4 separate regions of the Homo sapiens genome follow, and all the other regions are linked to region 2. The links are contacts of gene promoters, found by promoter capture Hi-C in blood cells and fetal thymus (Javierre and others, 2016). All regions are on one chromosome and are shown on one strand. The core of a region is centred on a gene start or on the middle of the fragment in contact, and the rest is flanking DNA. Distances in the headings are between cores, read along the strand shown.

Region 1 (4,075 bases), core at 833-3,332, 3.1 Mb after region 2:
CGTCTCAAAAAAAAAAAAAAAAAAAAATTATATTCTGGCGGTGGCTCACGCCTGTAATCCCAGCATTTCAGGAGGCCGAGGCGGGTGGATCACCTGAGGTCAGGAGTTCGAGGCCAGCCTGGCCAACATGGTGAAACCCCGTCTCTACTAAAAATACAAAAATTAGCCAGGTGTGGTGGCGAGCACCTGTAGTCCCAGCTAGTCGGGAGGCTGAGAGCAGGAGAATCACTTGAACCAGGGAGGTGGAGACTGCAGTGAGCCAAGATCGCGCCACTACACTCCAGCCTGGGCAAGAGCGAGACTATGTCTCACAAAAAAAAAAAGAAAAGACAATTATATTCTATATAAGCACATATGTCAAGATACTATTTTTTTCTAGACACTCTGAAATCAGAAAATATCAGAGAAATAGGGCATTTCAGTAAATAATATATAAAATTGATCAAATTTCTTGGAATGGGTGATAAATTTTATTTTTTCCATGACACAGCCCTCAGGAGATCCTGAAAACACGTGCCCCTGTGATGAGATTTTTAATCAAAATCATAATTCAAGATCATGTAAAAGCTAAACCCACTGTACTGACTTGGGTCACCCTCAAGTAGAACTTATATATTCTCTCCCGTTTTAACATTCTAAAACAAATTAATGTTAATCAATCCACCTTAATTTGTCAAGTTCAAGTCCGTCTTGCCAAAACTAATTCAGGTACATGGTAAAATTTACCAGATTTTTAAAGATAAAATAATGAATTGCTTTTCCTATTTTTGCCTGTTTTATCTATAAATCTCTTACATTATAATTTAATAGCTCATCCTGCCGCAAATAGAAAGCCTATAAAACCTATCCACAATAGCTATGTCCACAGGGATCTAGTAAAAAAAAAAAATCGTAGTTCTTAATTCAAGGAAGCTTATTTAATAAGTTTCATTACCACCAATACTTCAAAGACACCAATAACCAACACGTCATTTGTTCCTATTGCATAATTTAACAGGTTATTAACTTCTGGTATAATCCAAAAGCATAATTAGTAAACTATCATTAAAACATGATATTGCTTTTTTAAAAAATCAGAAATATTAACACCTTTCACTGCGTCAGTCAAATCAAAATTTCAAAATTTTTGTTCAACTGACTTTCCAAATCTAAATTCTTACTATTCTAAACGAGTATGGAGACAAAACACACACTCCATACTACATCTAAAAACTTCCTAGCCATCAGATTTTAATTTTAGCATAAACTGCCAAGAAAAACCTTTTGACCGAAACCTACATTCCGTACACATTACTGTATGTCAATCAACAGAAGGTGAGTTATGATCATTAGAAAGTTACATAATTTACTACAAAGATCGTTTAAAGCAAACTTCATTAAACGTAGGTTATAACAATTTACATGCTTCAAAGTTCAACGTGCAACCTTAAAGTATCAGAAACCATGAACAAAACTAGGCTTTTCTTTTAAAGTGGTCACAAGGAAGCAGGAACTGTTTGCGTGTTTAAGAACGCAATGAGCAGCAGAATACCAGCAGCTGAGTCAGGCAGAGGAACGCTGACTACATTCTGACTTCTAAAGGAAAGCGTTCCCTCGCCGATTTCCCAGACCCGGCCGGGAGAGTCCCGCGCGTCGCGACCTCGGAGAGAGGGCGCAGGGGGCAGACGACTCCCCGCCGCGCCCCCTGCACCTCGGGCTCGGCTGGCTGTGGCCCGCGCCAAGGTGCATGCCCAGCCAAGCAGAAGGAGCGGGCACCGCGCAGGCAGCGTTGCTCCGAGGGACAAAGGTTGGGCTCACACCCTCCACGGCCGCAGCTCGCGCGCCTGAGGAAGCCCGCCTGGCTGCCAGGGGTCTCCCGCTGGCCGGAGTTTGCGCAGCGTGTGGGGGAAGGGGAGCCCGGCCGCCCGCCCCTCCCCCGCCGCGCTCCCAGGGACCTGTTGATTAAGATCTCTACAGCCCAGCCGCCGCCGATCCGCCTCTTACCTCCACGCCTCGGCTCCGCGGAGCCTCCCGCCCCGGCCGCTCCTACGCACTGCAGAAGCGACAGCCCTCCGGCGGCCCTTGAAATTCCGGATAAAGAATCCAGAAACTCCCGACTCCCCACCTCAGAATCCTTAGTCCCCGCCCCCGCCCCACCGCCTGCCTCCTCCGTCGCCGCCGTCACCGCCGCAGCCGCCAGCAACTCCACTTCTAGACCGCGCGAGACCGGCCCCTGCGGCCGCCGCGAGACCGCGCACGCGCCCCCGGGACTCTGGCGCAGTGGGCGCGCGGATCCGAGTCCCACCCCGCCCGTGAGAGGCTGGCGCGGCTTGCCCAATCCCGAGCCGGAGCGGAGAGAGCGCCCGCTCATTGGTCCTCTCCGCAGCTCCAGCCGGGTGCGCGCAGTCGCGCGCCTCTAAGTCTAAAACGCGGACTGCTCCGGGCTAGCTGGCCCGGTAGAGCCCCTTCGGGATTTGGCCGGCGGGCTTTGTGGGGACGCGAGGCTTCCCTGGGTTTCTACATCCCTTGGCTCTTGTCTCTGGATGACGTATCCTGAAGAAAATCTGATTCCTCTTGAAGAGATTCCTCATGTCCTGTCAAGTTAGTCACCCAATCTAACATTTGTTTTTTTTAAAAAATGACATAAACACCTGGATGTGTGCAGTGTCCCGCAGAAGACTGCATAAAGCCAGCAGCTGCACTGATTTCTGAAAACCAGAAAGCAAGGATAGCAAGGACTAGAACTATTTCCCAGAAGTCTCCCGAAGGGACAGAGTTACGCAGATCAGCCCGTGCTCCGGGCATGGCTGGCGCCCTCGGGACCTGGATGTGCCACCCTTGGAATGGGGCAGGACTCAGGCGGGTGCGGGCGGAAGTCAGAGCAGATTGGAGGACGTTCTAAGGAGAAACACCAGCAATGTGTCTCGACACTTGCAATAAAAGCCCTCGGATGGTCTCTGTCTTGACAGTACCTTCCGAGCAAGCCCATTCCACATTTGAACACTTGCAAGGTTTGTTAATCGACCTCTCCTTCTATGAGGCCAAACTATGCCTGTGACTCCAGCCCGGGGGCACAGTTTCCCCCAGGGGCACAGTCCTCCCTCAAAGCCTTCGTATATGCCATTTCCATTTCTCTCGGTTTTCCTCATTTTGTCCCACGGTGTTTTTCCATCTCGCAATGTCCTCAGGTCCTGATTTTCAAGCTCTTTCACATTCTTCCCCATTACGCTCCTCTGGACAGCCTATGGGTTGTGGTGTCCCTCACTAAGGACACTGTGATGGCCTGAACGAAGCAAACCGTTGTTCCTGGTGGTGAAGATCTTTGGGGATGCCTACCCTTCCCAGATTTGTTATCCTTCTCAAATCTGATCAGCATTCTGTCCAAGTGTTTAATAAGACAGAGCGGAGGACAGAACTCTGCTGCATGCCACTAAAGACCTTAATGCTCCTGCCATCAAAAATTTCTCAGTAGGCTTCGAATACAGGTGGACGACACAACCGAACTGTCTTCTTGGCCCATATTCCTCCATAAAGATGCCATGAGAACTGGTGAAATGCCTAACTGAAATCCAGATAAAGTCTCCAGGATTCCTAGAAACTACTAGCCATACCCCAAAAGAAAAAACGGTTACTGTGTGTGACTTACTTCCTTTTCTAAGTTCTTTTGTTTTTGTTTTTGTTTGAGACGGAGTTTCGCTCTTTTGCCCAGGCTGGAGTAAAGTGGCGCAATCTCGGCTCACTGCAACCTCCGCTCCCCGGGTTCAAGCGATACTCCTCCCTCAGCCTCCCCAGTATCTGGGATTACAGGTGCCAGCCACCACGCCCGGCTAATTTTTGTATTGTTAGTAGAGACGGGGTTTCGCCACATTGGCCAAGCTGGTCTTGAACACCTGACCTCAGGTGATCCACCTTTCTCAGCCTTCCAAAGTGCTAGGATTACAGGCGTGAGCAACCGTGCCCCGCCTCTAAGTTCTTAAATATATAACATAAATAATAATTCAAGAAGCTTCCTCCAGCTCGTCAATGAATTCTTCTTTCTCTAGCTTATAATTTCTCATCCTTGGCACTATTGACATTTGGGCTGGATAATTCTTGT
Region 2 (4,119 bases), core at 542-3,041:
GAAAGTAGGAGATGTGATACGCTTAACTAACCTGGATGCCACGTGAGATTTATTTATTTATTTTTGAAACAGGGTCTAGCTGTGTCACCCAGGCTGCAGTGCAGTGGCATGATCACGGCTCACTGTAGCCTGGACCTCCTGGGCTCAAGTGATCTTCCCACCTCAGCTTCCCAAGTAGCTGAGACCCCACCATGCCTGGCTAATTTATTATTATTATTATTATTTGTAAAGATGGGGTCTTGCTTTGTTGCTCAGGCTGGTCTCGAACTCCTGGGCTCAAATGATCCTCCTGCCTCAGCCTCCCAAACTGCAGGTATTACAGGCATGAGCCACCATGCCTGGTCTGCATGAATTTTGAAATATCAAAAGGAAGTAAATAAGATGGGAGAGATGCACCGTTCCTGGGTTTCTGGAGGTATTGAAATACAGGTTGATGTGTAGAGTGGTGGAGCAAACTCCTATTCCATCTCCTTGCTTCAAAAACCCATTTAACATATTTTCCTTGGATAGAGAATGTGTCAAATATTAAACTGTTAAGAACAGATACTACACTTGATCTTAGCCAAAAGGATAAGTTTCACTGGAGTAGCCTGCAGTAGATCTGGAGCTTCTCTTCTGGAGACCACTTAAGAGGCTACTTTAATAGGTGAAAAGATGATAAGGAATTAAAAAAAGGAACATTTCAGTGGTAACAGAGAGGCAGGGACAGATGGAAATATTTCAGGAATAGCATGGAAGATAATATTCCGCATCACCTGCACTCTGATTCACTCTGGTAAATGGGACACGTGGGGGATCGGCTTCCTAAGCTATCCCAGTACTTCACACATGTTTGTTTCTGTGCCCATGAAATCGCCAGTGTCTTTAAGGTAAGGATCATATATTTTTATCTGTGTTCCTAGAACCCTTTCAAAGACACGCTGAAAGGTGGCCTGTATGGTTGCTGAATCATTGGTAAATAGACATTCATAAATGACTAAAGATTACAGGTTATCTCACAGTAAAATCATTAGCATTAAAAGTTCAGTAATGACTGATGAGACACTACACTGATTACATTTCAACCTAATCTTTCAAAAGCGATTTATTTTTAAAAGTCTCCATTAAACTGGCAAATTCCTCATCCCACAAATAGCCATAAAGACTGGAGTACCAGCTTCAAAATACTTTTTTTTCTTTTTTCTTTTTGAGACGAAGTCTCGCTCTTGTTCCCCAGGCTGGAGTGCGATGGCGCGATCTCTGCTCATTGCAACCTCCGCCTCCCGGGTTCAAGCGATTCTCCTGCCTCGGCCCCCCAGTAGCTGGGATTACAGGCGCCTGCCACCACGCCCGGCTAATTTTTGTATTTTTTTTTTTTAATAGAGACGGGGTTTTACCATGTTGACCAGGCTGATCTAGAACTCCTGACCTCAGGTGATCTACCGGCCTCGGCCTCCCAAAGTGCTGGGATTACAGGCCACCCACCCAGGCCACCGCGCCCGGCCTCAAAATACTTTTTTCCTTAGCTGATTTTATCGAGTGGCTATGTGCCTAAGGGAGTGTTCTAAGCAGACGTTAGTTAGGACCCAGAACGTGGGAAGTACTGGTTTCCAGATCAATTTGGTGGTGATCGTAAACCGATTCAAATCTCTAAATCCCAATTGCACGCCGACGTTACGGAACCAAAAACGCTGACGCCCACATTTCTGGGCGGACGCACAAGTATGTTACGATGGCTCGATTGCTTTTGCCTAGCGGAAACCATTCACTAAGGACCGAGCACCAAATAACCAAGGAAAAGGAAGTGAGTTAAGGACGTACTCGTCTTGGTGAGAGCGTGAGCTGCTGAGATTTGGGAGTCTGCGCTAGGCCCGCTTGGAGTTCTGAGCCGATGGAAGAGTTCACTCATGTTTGCACCCGCGGTGATGCGTGCTTTTCGCAAGAACAAGACTCTCGGCTATGGAGTCCCCATGTTGGTGAGTGGAGTGAGGAGGATCTTCCGCAAGGGGTGGGACCCTCCTCCTTGGCAGGATCAAGACCTGGGAGGGAATCTGTAAAATGTGAAGTTAAGGGCTGGCACTCGGGCTAGGAAGGAGCTAGCGACGGGGTGAGAGCTTTCCTAAAAGCTCTTCCACCAGTCTTTTCCACACCCCCACTTCCCCGCCGCTGTCCCCCACTCCCGGTTGGATTTCAGGTGTACTAGGATCTGTCTGCTTGTGAGCGTGGCGTCTTTCCCATCGTCGAACGCGGTCATTGTTACTACCCTTGATTCACAGTTAAGTAAATTGAAGCTCAGAGAATTCAGTCAGAACCACACTTTAAGCCAAGTTTGGATGATTACTAAGCTTGCTTCCTCGCCCCCAACTTAGCTATGTTTTGACGATACTGTGGATCATTGGGACTAGATGTATTCCATTTAACTGCACGAATTCCTGGTATCTTTCTGTTTCATCTTTCTAGTTTGTGAATTAGCTTAATACTTAGAGTTGTGATGAACTAATAACACCTTGTGAATAAAGTGTTGAGTACGGTGCCTGCCACATTGTAGCCAGAATGATTGCTGTGTTATAATTTCTAAAGCACGTTGAAAACAGCTTCCGTGTTTATATGGTTTCATCCATATCCACACTGAGTTCCCTAAGGATGTCATGAAATGCAGGCTGAGGCTGGCTTAAGACAACCAGAGTTGAAATCCAGATGACTCTTATTTGCTTTTTGATTACGGGCCAGTTATTTTGCTTCAGCAAGCCTTGATGTGTTAGTAAATGAAATAATTAAAGCATATGAACAAAAGCTGCTTTTAAATACAGACTATATTTTTATTTTGTATGAATGTTGGCGCAGATGAAATTACCAGCTTTTCCATTTAAGCAGACTAAAGGAAAGAAGTGATCTTAGAAAGGTAATGGATATTTTACACAGTTTTGAAAAATCCACATTCATCAAATGTGGATTTTAGGAATCTCCAAAAGATTCACCCATTTGAAGTATCTGGGCCAAGCACGATGGCTCACACCTGTAATCCCAGTGTTAGGGGAAGCCAAGACAGGAGGATCGCTTTAGGTCAGGAGTTCCAAACCAGCAAGACCTCTGTCTCTCCAAAAAAAAAAAAAAAAAAAAAAATTGTTGTTTTTAGCAAATTCGATATTAGTATACTAATATATTCGTATATTAGTATATTCTTAGTTATGGAGCCATCACCACAATTTTAGAACATTTTCATTGCCCCCAAAAAAGCATCATAACTAATAGTAGTCACTTCCCATTTCTTCCTGCCTCTTAATGCTGGCCTGGTAAACCACTAATCTACTTCTACCCGTAAATTTGCTTATTCTGCACATTTCATATTAACACACTAATACAACGTGGGTTTTTTGTGACTGGATTCTTCCACTTAGAATGTTTTTAAGGTTCATTCACATTGTAACATATATCAATACTTCATTCCTTTTGATGGATATAATTCCATTGTTTGGATATATTTTATCAATTGATGAACATTTGGGTTGTTTCAATTTTTGACTATTATGAATAATGCTGCTATGAACATTTATGTACACGCTTTGTGTGGAAGTATGTTTTCATTTCTCTCAGGTAGGGAATATACCTAGACGTGGAATTGCTAGGTCATATGGTAACTCTTCAACTTTTTAGGATGTGCCAGATGTTTTCCAAAGTGGCTGCATCATTTTACATTCCCACCAGCAAGATATGATTTTCAATTTCTCCACATCCTTGCCAACACTTGTTATTGTCCATCTTTTGAATTATTACCCTTTCTAGTAGGTGTGAAGTGATACCTCATTGTGGTTTTGATTTTCATTTCCCTAACGACTTATTATGTTGAGCATCTTTTCAAATGTTTATTGGTCATTTGAATATCTTTTTGGAGAAATGTCTGTTCAAATCCTTTGCCCATTTTTTAATTGGACTATGTTTCCTTTTATTGGACAGAGGTTTCTTTAAAACCCAAAACCAACAAATCTGCCAGTCTTTGTCGAGAGGCTCTGCATGCTTTTTTGGGCATGCTTTCAACATTCAGCCATGCAATTTACAGCTCCATGTATAGCCTTCACTTCTTACTTGCTCAGAGCTTCAAATTAGTCATAAGTTGAGAATTTAGGGCCTTCTCAGGTCTTT
Region 3 (4,004 bases), core at 410-2,909, 3.8 Mb after region 2:
GGGATTACAGGCACACACCACCATGCCTGCCTAATTTTCATATTTTTAGTAGAGGTGGGGTTTCACCATGTTGGCCAGGATGGTCTCAATCTCCTGACTTCGTGATCTGCCCGCCTCAGCCTCCCAAAGTGCTGGGATTACAGGCGTGAGCCCCTGTGCCTGGCTCAGTTTCTTATTTATAAGATATCCAACAGTTCTTAACCATTAATTAGACTTTAAAGATTATTAATTTCAAGTGCACATTAATGTGTTTTTTAAAAGAACAAGAAATAATTAAAAGAAACATTTCATTTTTACTTAGCATTCAAATTGCACTTAATCTCTTTCACTCATAGAGTGGATTTTTATTAACATTTACAGCATCAGGCAGACACATTTAGCCATGATCCTGAAATCGTGAAGTACTATACAAAGAAATAAAGCTATTTATTATAGTAATATCCACTCATTTTCTGATGCCCTGAACCCAAAAGTGAAAATATGTGCCTTTAGACCCTCACTTCAAATCTAACTGGATGTAATATCACAAATAATTCTTAGCAAGTTTATGTGGTTCCCAAGGATATAGTAGATTAGAAGGGCAGGGCAGGAAGAGGAAGGGCAAGTGGGTAAAACCTGAAAAGCATATACGTTATGGAAACATACTATCATGTCACAGTAACAGATATTCAGAATAGAATGTAGAAATATAATTGCTGGCCAGGCACGGTGGCTCACATCTGTAATCCCAGCACTTTGGGAGGCTAAGGCAGGTAGATCACTTGAGGTCAGGAGTCCAAAACCAGCCTGGCCAACATGGTAAAACTCTGTCTCTACTAAAAATACAAAAAAAAAAAAAAAATTAGCCAGGCATGGTGGCAGGCGCCTGTAATCCCAGCTACTCGGGAGGCTGAGGCAGGAGAATCACTTGAACCCGGGAGGCAGAGGTTGCAGCAAGCTGAGATCGCACCACTGCATTCCAGCCTGGGCGACAGAGTGAGTCCGTCTCAAAAAAAAAAAAATGTGTATCAAAAAAATGGCTTGACATAAAAACAGTTTTGGTGCTTGTACTTGTTATCTACTTAAAAAATAAAATATAAAAGCACCTTATTCCTTGAAACATAAATGAAGCATGAATGTGTCAATATTCAACTTGACTGAATAATGTTTTCACAGTAGTGCTAGAATATATGCTTCAAGACAAGAAAGATTGAACTGTCTTAATCACTATTGTATCCTTCACTTAGCACAGGGCCTTGGTACATAGTAGGTGTTGAATACTGAATACATTATTTCATTTCTCACATTAACCCATCAAGGTAAACACACTTACCCCCATTTAAAGGTAAGGAAACTGTGGTAAAATGTGCTTATCTTGAAAGTGGGAGAAGAGGCATAACTTTTGACTCCTAACAGTGTTATTTTGATCACCAGAATCAACATTAACAGCATTTTCAGAATTTTTTTACCTATAATTTCAAATTTTTAGTTTTTAGATATCAAATTTCATTAGTCTAAAATTATCCTCACACAAACAACACCCAACTAAAACAATATACAAAATTTAATGCTATAAAACATCTCAAACACACATCGTTATAAATATCATCCTATTACCAGAAAAACATACCTTTTAAAAACTAATCAACTTCACTCCATCTACCCTAAACTATCCTTTTAGTAATAATAGCCAAGTTCTGGTTTACCTAAATGTTTCTTAAGGTACTATATAAATTTTACACCACCCAATTTTTTTATTAAACACCTTCTATCCAATTACTTCATTAACAGATGCTATGACAAAAGGGCACAAAAGAAGTAAAGAACATAACCATATATCTCAAGAACTTTAAAATCTACTTTGAATAAGACATGTATACACGAAACTGTGGCAAGTTGCTCCCAAAGCAACATACAAAGAGGAAGGAACCAAAAATAACTGAGTATCTCATCTGAAAATGCTAGGCATTTTCATATGCGTTACCTCTATTAGTTCTGAAAACTTTGTAAAGTAGATATTGCCATCTTCATTTCGGAGAAGAAAACTGAAATTCAGAGAGGTGAAATGACTTCCCAAAATAAAGGGCAAATGAGGGTCTGAAGTCCAAGTCTATCTGACTCCAAAGTTCTATCCTTTTTAAGCTACACCATGCAGCCTCCCACATATAGATTACAGGGTATAGACAACATTTATAAACGTTGTAAGGAAAACAAAGAAAGACATCATTGAAGAGAATAATTCCTAGGAAATATTTTATTGACAAAGTCAGTCCTGAGCTGTGTCTGAAACCTAAGTGTAAGATTGCTAATAACAGAAAGATTAATGTCACAAAAATTTCTAAATAAAAAATCTAAATATTTTCCTTCTTTGATCATTATTCTATTTCTTATTCTCTTGCATTTTTATGTATAACCTACCCTCCCCTATAATCATTCCCATTATAAAGACAGAAAAAAATTAACTAGGTCTAATATCCTATATTTCTCTTTCCTGCTGGTCAGAATGCTAAAAGATAGAAACATATACTGCCATGAGAGCCTTGAAGTGATCTTAGAGAGTGATTTCTTCATTTTAGTGGTAAGAAAAGCTGAGAGAGGGTTACACAATATACTGAAGGTTACAAAACTTTACTAGCCAGAATAGTATGAGAACATAGTTCTTACAGTGTTCTTTCTATGATTCAGTGCTCCTTAAATTTTTTGCCATGAAGTGTCAATAACGCAGAAGAATGACGAGATCTGGAGCTCACTTGAAATATAATGGGCTCACTTGAAATTTCTTTGAAGTTTCTAATTTCATCTTAAAGCCTCATATGAATTCTATACTTTGTGCCTAATTTACTTATGCTTATCTTAATATTAAAGTTATTTAAATTAATACCATCAAGTAAAATTGGTACTTAAAAAATTATTATGTTTGTTCCTGTGGCTTAGATTCTAAGCCTTATAGGTATCCCTTGACACAATGTCATGTACTCCAGTTTGAGAAGAATGCCCCAAATTATGGTGACAATTCCTTCATCATATTTCATTTCCTTGCTGCTTTATTTTTCAAATTAAGAATTCTTTTTAAAGCATGGTAAATTTAATTACACTCTTTCGAAATGTATAAATACTGACAAAGCTACTGTTAAAATTGTTGGGGTTGTTTAAACACAAAATTTTCAAGAAGCTCTACTTAGTTAAAATTAATTTATTAAAAACAATTTAGTTTATAAATTCATTAAAGAACCTGGATAGAACTTCTACCTAGCAATACTTCATTAAACATTTCCTTTTTGAGAGGTCACTCAAAAAAACTTTTTAATGAAAGTGAGATTAGATGCCATTCATATTGACTACAGTCCCAATTACTTTTAAGTAGGTTAAACAATCTTTTCTTCTTCCTTGGTATTTATCTTCTCTGCCCAGATGTGAAGGAAGAAATCCTTTGTGGTTTCACTACTTTCTTTTTCAGGATCTTTTTTTAATACCTTTCAAATTCCAAATATGCTTCATTATTCTTCAATCCTATTTACAGAAACAGAGTAATAGATTTTATCTATTTTACTGATTGTTTTTAAAAACACCCTGTTCAACTTAGCCAGGAATCTATCACTAGCAAGATTAAAAATAGACTCTTATTCGTCACTTCCTCCCTAAAAACATACTATTGACTTTCCACTATATGCCTGCTTGAAGTCAAATAGTTGTATGTGTTTTTAATGTATTTAAAACTCTTATTGTATAGCAACTAATACTTTTTCAAGTCCTTGGCCAGTGATGATAGTATTAAGTATATTCACTTTGAAGTCAAATTGTCACATGTGTTTTTAATATAGTTAAAATTCTTATTGTATAGCAACTAATACTTTTTCAAGTCTTTGACCAATGATAATAGTACTAAGTATATTCATTAGAAATTAATTTAACATTTTCCTACTTTGCCTAAACATTTAATTCTCTAATACATTGCTTTCAACAAAAAATTCACAAAATAACAATCTATTTCAAGAAATAGGATTCCTTTCAAGTCATATAGATCA
Region 4 (4,302 bases), core at 1,315-3,814, 3.9 Mb after region 2:
TAGTTGTAATGCCCATAGTACCTAAGGGGAAACATTAGGAAAATAAGAGCTTCTTTTGAGGGGGAAAAAAAAAAAAAACCACTAGTTTTGTTTTGTTTTGTATCACTGTGGGTATTAGCATTGATGTGAATTTTCTGATTTTTTTTTTTTAGAAAATAACTTTGTCAAACAATATTTCAGAAGTTGGAGTGGCAGACTGTTTTTCTGTTTACAGCTCATGTCCCACAGGGGGAAAAATCATTTAAGAATTATATGCAAGTAAATAAAGAAGTGGAATAATAAGTTATGTGTATATATACATACCCTCAGATAAACCAGATAGATATATTTCACAAAAATGGTCAATTATAGATAGTGGAGAATAAACAAAAGATAAAGGTGAAGATGGGGAAGAGAAAGAGGAAGCAGACAGAATGGTAGGCGTAGGGTGAGAAGGGAGGCAATGAAAAGGAGAAAAAGGGAGAATTATAGGGTGCTAAATACAACCGATAGTGAGTCTGTTCTAAATTAGAGTTGCCAGACTAAAATATGGGACTCCCAGTTAAATTTGAATTTTAATATAAACACCAAATAATTTTTCATATATCTCATGAAATATTTGGGACACACTTATACTAAAAATTATTTGGTGAAATTCAAATTTAATAGGGTATCCCTTTTTATTTGCTAAATATGATAACATTTTCCTAGACATACTGCTGCACTCCTGAGTGTGTGATGCCCACAAATTATGGAATCTGTTGTCACCCATTAAAATAATATTAATAAGGGTACAGTTTATTTTGTCAAGCTTCAAAATTTATATTTAGGAAGAAAAGAATTTTATTCTCCCCCTGAATTTCTGTGAAGTATTAAAGAAGTAAAAGAATGACTTAGTTTAGAAATTAACTTTATAACCTATTAATACCATAAACCTAACTTTGACATTCAAAAGGTTCAGGTTGCCTCAAAGCTTTAAAAAGCCTGTACTTGAAAGCAACAGTACTGCTTATCAAGGACCCGGATTTGAGCTAGCTGTGGTTTTCCGCCCCTGCCCTTCAGCATTTTAGCTTAACACTACTATTTTCCCTTCAGCAGCACCTGCTGAAGTGTAGTTCAGCCATCAGGAAGAATAATACTAAAGTGAAGTAAAGGTTAAAGCCAGGAAGAATGACTTGCTTTCAGAACAGAAGGAGTTAGAGAATAAATAAGGTCTCAAAGAGTATTCATTTCCCATTTCGCTGGGCTTTCATCTGAATTTATAAGTGTAGCATAATACTCACATCCAACGTTCAGGTTTTTCTCAGAAGAGCTCAAGGAAATGCTAAGAGTTGGTGGGGATTGAGGGGAGGAGAGAAAAGCAAAGCTATCAGAATCAAATGTCTTAACACAAGTTATATTATTGCTGAAGATAAACCTCTTCTTTAAACACCAGCAGATATGATGGGAAATTCAGTTGAATTTAGAGATTGCTTAGCACCTGTGCTCTCTAAGATAGGTGACTGCCAAAGTCCACAAACTTGCCTTCTGGACTCTATAGAAGTTAGGGAGGGCCTACAATACACCCTGAATCAAATTATAATTTTACACTGGTGGAAAAGTAAATCCTTTCAAATGTCACCTGTCTCCGGAAAGATCAAAAGTAAAGACTTCATCGTAGGTATAAACAGACTAAGTGAGGCAGCATGCCAAAGAGATAACATGGATGACGGTAATGCCACATCCTGGGCATCAAGGGAATTCACAAGTAGGGATTTGTTGAAGTGTAACAAAATCAGTAATATTAACACAGGATTGTATTTTGCCAGCTACACAGATCATACCACTGCAACTCAGCCAACCAGCACATCGGACAGTGGGAGGAGGAATTCTTGGCTAAGAGTACTGAGGTAAACTCTTCATCTACTTGGAAATGCTTAGAACAGAAAAGCCTGTACCCTGATTTACTGAGAGGTGTGTCCAAAATTATATTCCACCCTTTCTCTAAGACAGGTTTGTGCAATTCAATTCTTTTGAAACTAGAGAAAAAGAAACGCTGTCCTGTAACACTGTTAAGTATACAAACTTCAAATAAGCACCATCTTTTATTTTTTGTTTAGTGCTCATTTTTTCTTTTAGTGCCCCAATCGCCTGATTTATCTGTGGTGGAAGGGAACACTATTCTACAAGGATTGTGGAGGAAGTGGGCAGTGACTGTTTTTTGAAATGGAGATAACTGTAGTACAGGGAGTAAAATACTAGGTAAAAATTATGCAACAGAACACTGAGTTTAACATGGTCTAATCAAGGCTGCCAGTAATACACCTTGGTGCCAAAAGAGCATGTGATAAAACATCAAGAAATTTTTTTCTTTTTTCATTTGATACATGAATGTGGCACCTTTTGTCCTGAGAGTAATAGAAGACCGATCTCTCCCACAGCATTTCATGGTTCCTGAATTACCACTCTGTGGACTTGAAGCCTGGATGTGGTTGGTGCCACCTACTGGGCTAAATGCAGAGTTAACATTTTCTTACTGAACAAATTAACCTTAGGAGTATGCTTCTTCACTGAGAAGATTATACGTTAAACAGATAATAAATTTGGATTCAAATTATAGCGTTTAGATCTAGAAGAGGCATGAAAAGTCACATGCTTTTACACATCCATTTTGTAGCATAGTCTAGGGAATAAGGATTGAATATGGAGCCAAGAAGCCTGGCTTCTCTGAGCTTGTTTCTTGTTCTATAATACCTTTCATAGAGTCACTGTGAGGGTTGCACAAGGTATTAAGTTCTCAGCATGCTCCATGTTAATGTTGTTTGTATTTTTAAAACCTGAAATTAAATGACTTTTCCAAGTCATATAACTGGTGAGCCTCAGAGGAAGGCCTGCAACTCATGTATCTGAGTCTTAAATTCAGTGCTTTTTTCCTTAAATTACAATTTGCCAAAATTTGATGATGAGATGATTTTAGGTGGCAATTGGGATAAATTTCGGTGTTGGGACAAGGCATTAAATACTATAAATCACAGTGAGAAAATTATTGCCTTTTCAATTATTTCAAACTTGATGGCATCAAGGAGAAAGTTGCAGTTTGGTGCTGGCTTTCTTTAAAGTTCTCTATGTCTTTTTTTTTTTTTTTTGATACGAAGTCTCGCTCTGTCACCTAGGCTGGAGTGCAGTGGCGTCATCGCAGCTCACTGTAACCTCTGCCTCCCAGGTTCAAGCGATTCTCCTGCCTCAGCCTCCTGAGTATCTGGGACTATAGGTGTGTGCCACCACACCTGGCTAATTTTCTGTATTTTGTTGTAGAGATGGGGTTTCACCATGTTAACCAGGATTGTCTCAATCTCCTGACCGCGTGATCCACCTGCCTCAGCCTCCCAAAGTGCTGGGATTACAGGCGTGAGCCACCATGCCTGGCCAAAATTCTGTATGTCTTTCTAATCTCACTTCCTAATGGAGATAAAATAGATCTCAGGCTTATGTATTTTTCTAGAACATTAAAATCTTGTTTTTTGTGTATTTATTATTAAGTTTACCTTCTATTGTGGAAAACTCTATTGATTCTTCATTTAAAATAGTAATATAAATTTTATTTTCAAGGAATGCATTTAGGAAACTAAAGAAGTCAATGTAAACAACAAATATTGAATAAATAATAGTCCAGGTGATACACAAAGTTGGAAAATACTACAACACCTACCATTAAGAAATTATTACCAAATAGGTTGGTAATAACCTCTTTACATAATTAGTTTTAAAATCCTTTATGAAGAGAATATTTGTTTGCTTTTAAATAATCAAATACTAGAGGTGAAAAAATAGGCCACATAACCAAAATATAGGACTCCATTAGATTTCAAATCCACTTGGGCTCAAACAAACCTATAGAGTTTGAATACATGTGTTAGAAAATGAAACTGGCCCATAATTAGTGCTAAATGAATGCAGAATCAATTTAACACATTGATCCATTGCCTGTGGCTACATTAATTTGTGGTAACTAAGCCGTATAGTACCCTATCATTTAATTCTCCAGGAACATAAAAGGAAAGGAGAGAAAAGAAGATGTGGATCTGTGGCTGTTCCAATTCAAAGTTGATTCAATGTTTTACATGCAAGGAGAAAAAATATCTCCTGAGACAATCAAGTTGAATGGAACCCTTATTTACTAATTTAGACTTAATTTGATTCTGGAGCTAAAAAGCTTTTGGCTCTTTACCATATAGATCCCTTGAGATGACCTTCAGCTAATTTTGAATGAAGTAAAACAGGGACTTGTCTGTCTTCCTCATAACCCTCTTCTCTTCTGTCTTTTAAATTTGTATCTTAATGATT

Evidence for each region. The method cuts DNA at HindIII sites, captures the fragments that hold promoters and counts their contacts. A CHiCAGO score of 5 or more calls a contact.
Region 1: the fragment with the promoter of PALS1 here is called in contact with the fragment with the promoter of COX16 in region 2 in 1 of 17 cell types (monocytes); the score reaches 9.1 in monocytes.
Region 3: a fragment that was not itself captured here is called in contact with the fragment with the promoter of COX16 in region 2 in 2 of 17 cell types (naive CD4 T cells and monocytes); the score reaches 5.5 in naive CD4 T cells.
Region 4: a fragment that was not itself captured here is called in contact with the fragment with the promoter of COX16 in region 2 in 1 of 17 cell types (monocytes); the score reaches 5.2 in monocytes.

What each region holds. Positions count from the first base shown.
Region 1 is chr14:67,239,442-67,243,516 of GRCh38, reverse strand. It overlaps PALS1 (protein associated with LIN7 1, MAGUK p55 family member), which reads right to left and starts at 2,082. Exons shown (of 15, transcript NM_022474.4): 1 at 1,984-2,082. It overlaps LOC124903330 (a long non-coding RNA gene), which reads left to right and starts at 2,108. Exons shown (of 2, transcript XR_007064217.1): 1 at 2,108-4,075. It also overlaps a transcript of GPHN not described here. RefSeq lists a silencer at 1,501-2,470 and an enhancer at 2,451-2,730. The HindIII fragment of the contact is 3,073 bases long and covers 915-3,987 here.
Region 2 is chr14:70,357,355-70,361,473 of GRCh38, reverse strand. It overlaps COX16 (cytochrome c oxidase assembly factor COX16), which reads left to right and starts at 1,791. Exons shown (of 4, transcript NM_016468.7): 1 at 1,791-1,955. The coding sequence starts at 1,887. All of the region lies in intron 3 of SYNJ2BP-COX16 (SYNJ2BP-COX16 readthrough), which reads left to right. It also overlaps the pseudogene RNU2-51P. RefSeq lists enhancers at 1,212-1,301, 1,762-2,071. The HindIII fragment of the contact is 4,146 bases long and covers 1-2,326 here.
Region 3 is chr14:66,513,011-66,517,014 of GRCh38, reverse strand. The region is part of intron 1 of GPHN (gephyrin); the gene reads right to left. Among named protein-coding and RNA genes, the nearest start is that of GPHN, 6.9 kb to the right of the region's middle. The HindIII fragment of the contact is 5,208 bases long and covers 1-4,004 here.
Region 4 is chr14:66,493,828-66,498,129 of GRCh38, reverse strand. It overlaps CCDC196 (coiled-coil domain containing 196), which reads right to left. Exons shown (of 10, transcript NM_001351576.1): 9 at 1-21. Among named protein-coding and RNA genes, the nearest start is that of CCDC196, 9.6 kb to the right of the region's middle. The HindIII fragment of the contact is 3,219 bases long and covers 955-4,173 here.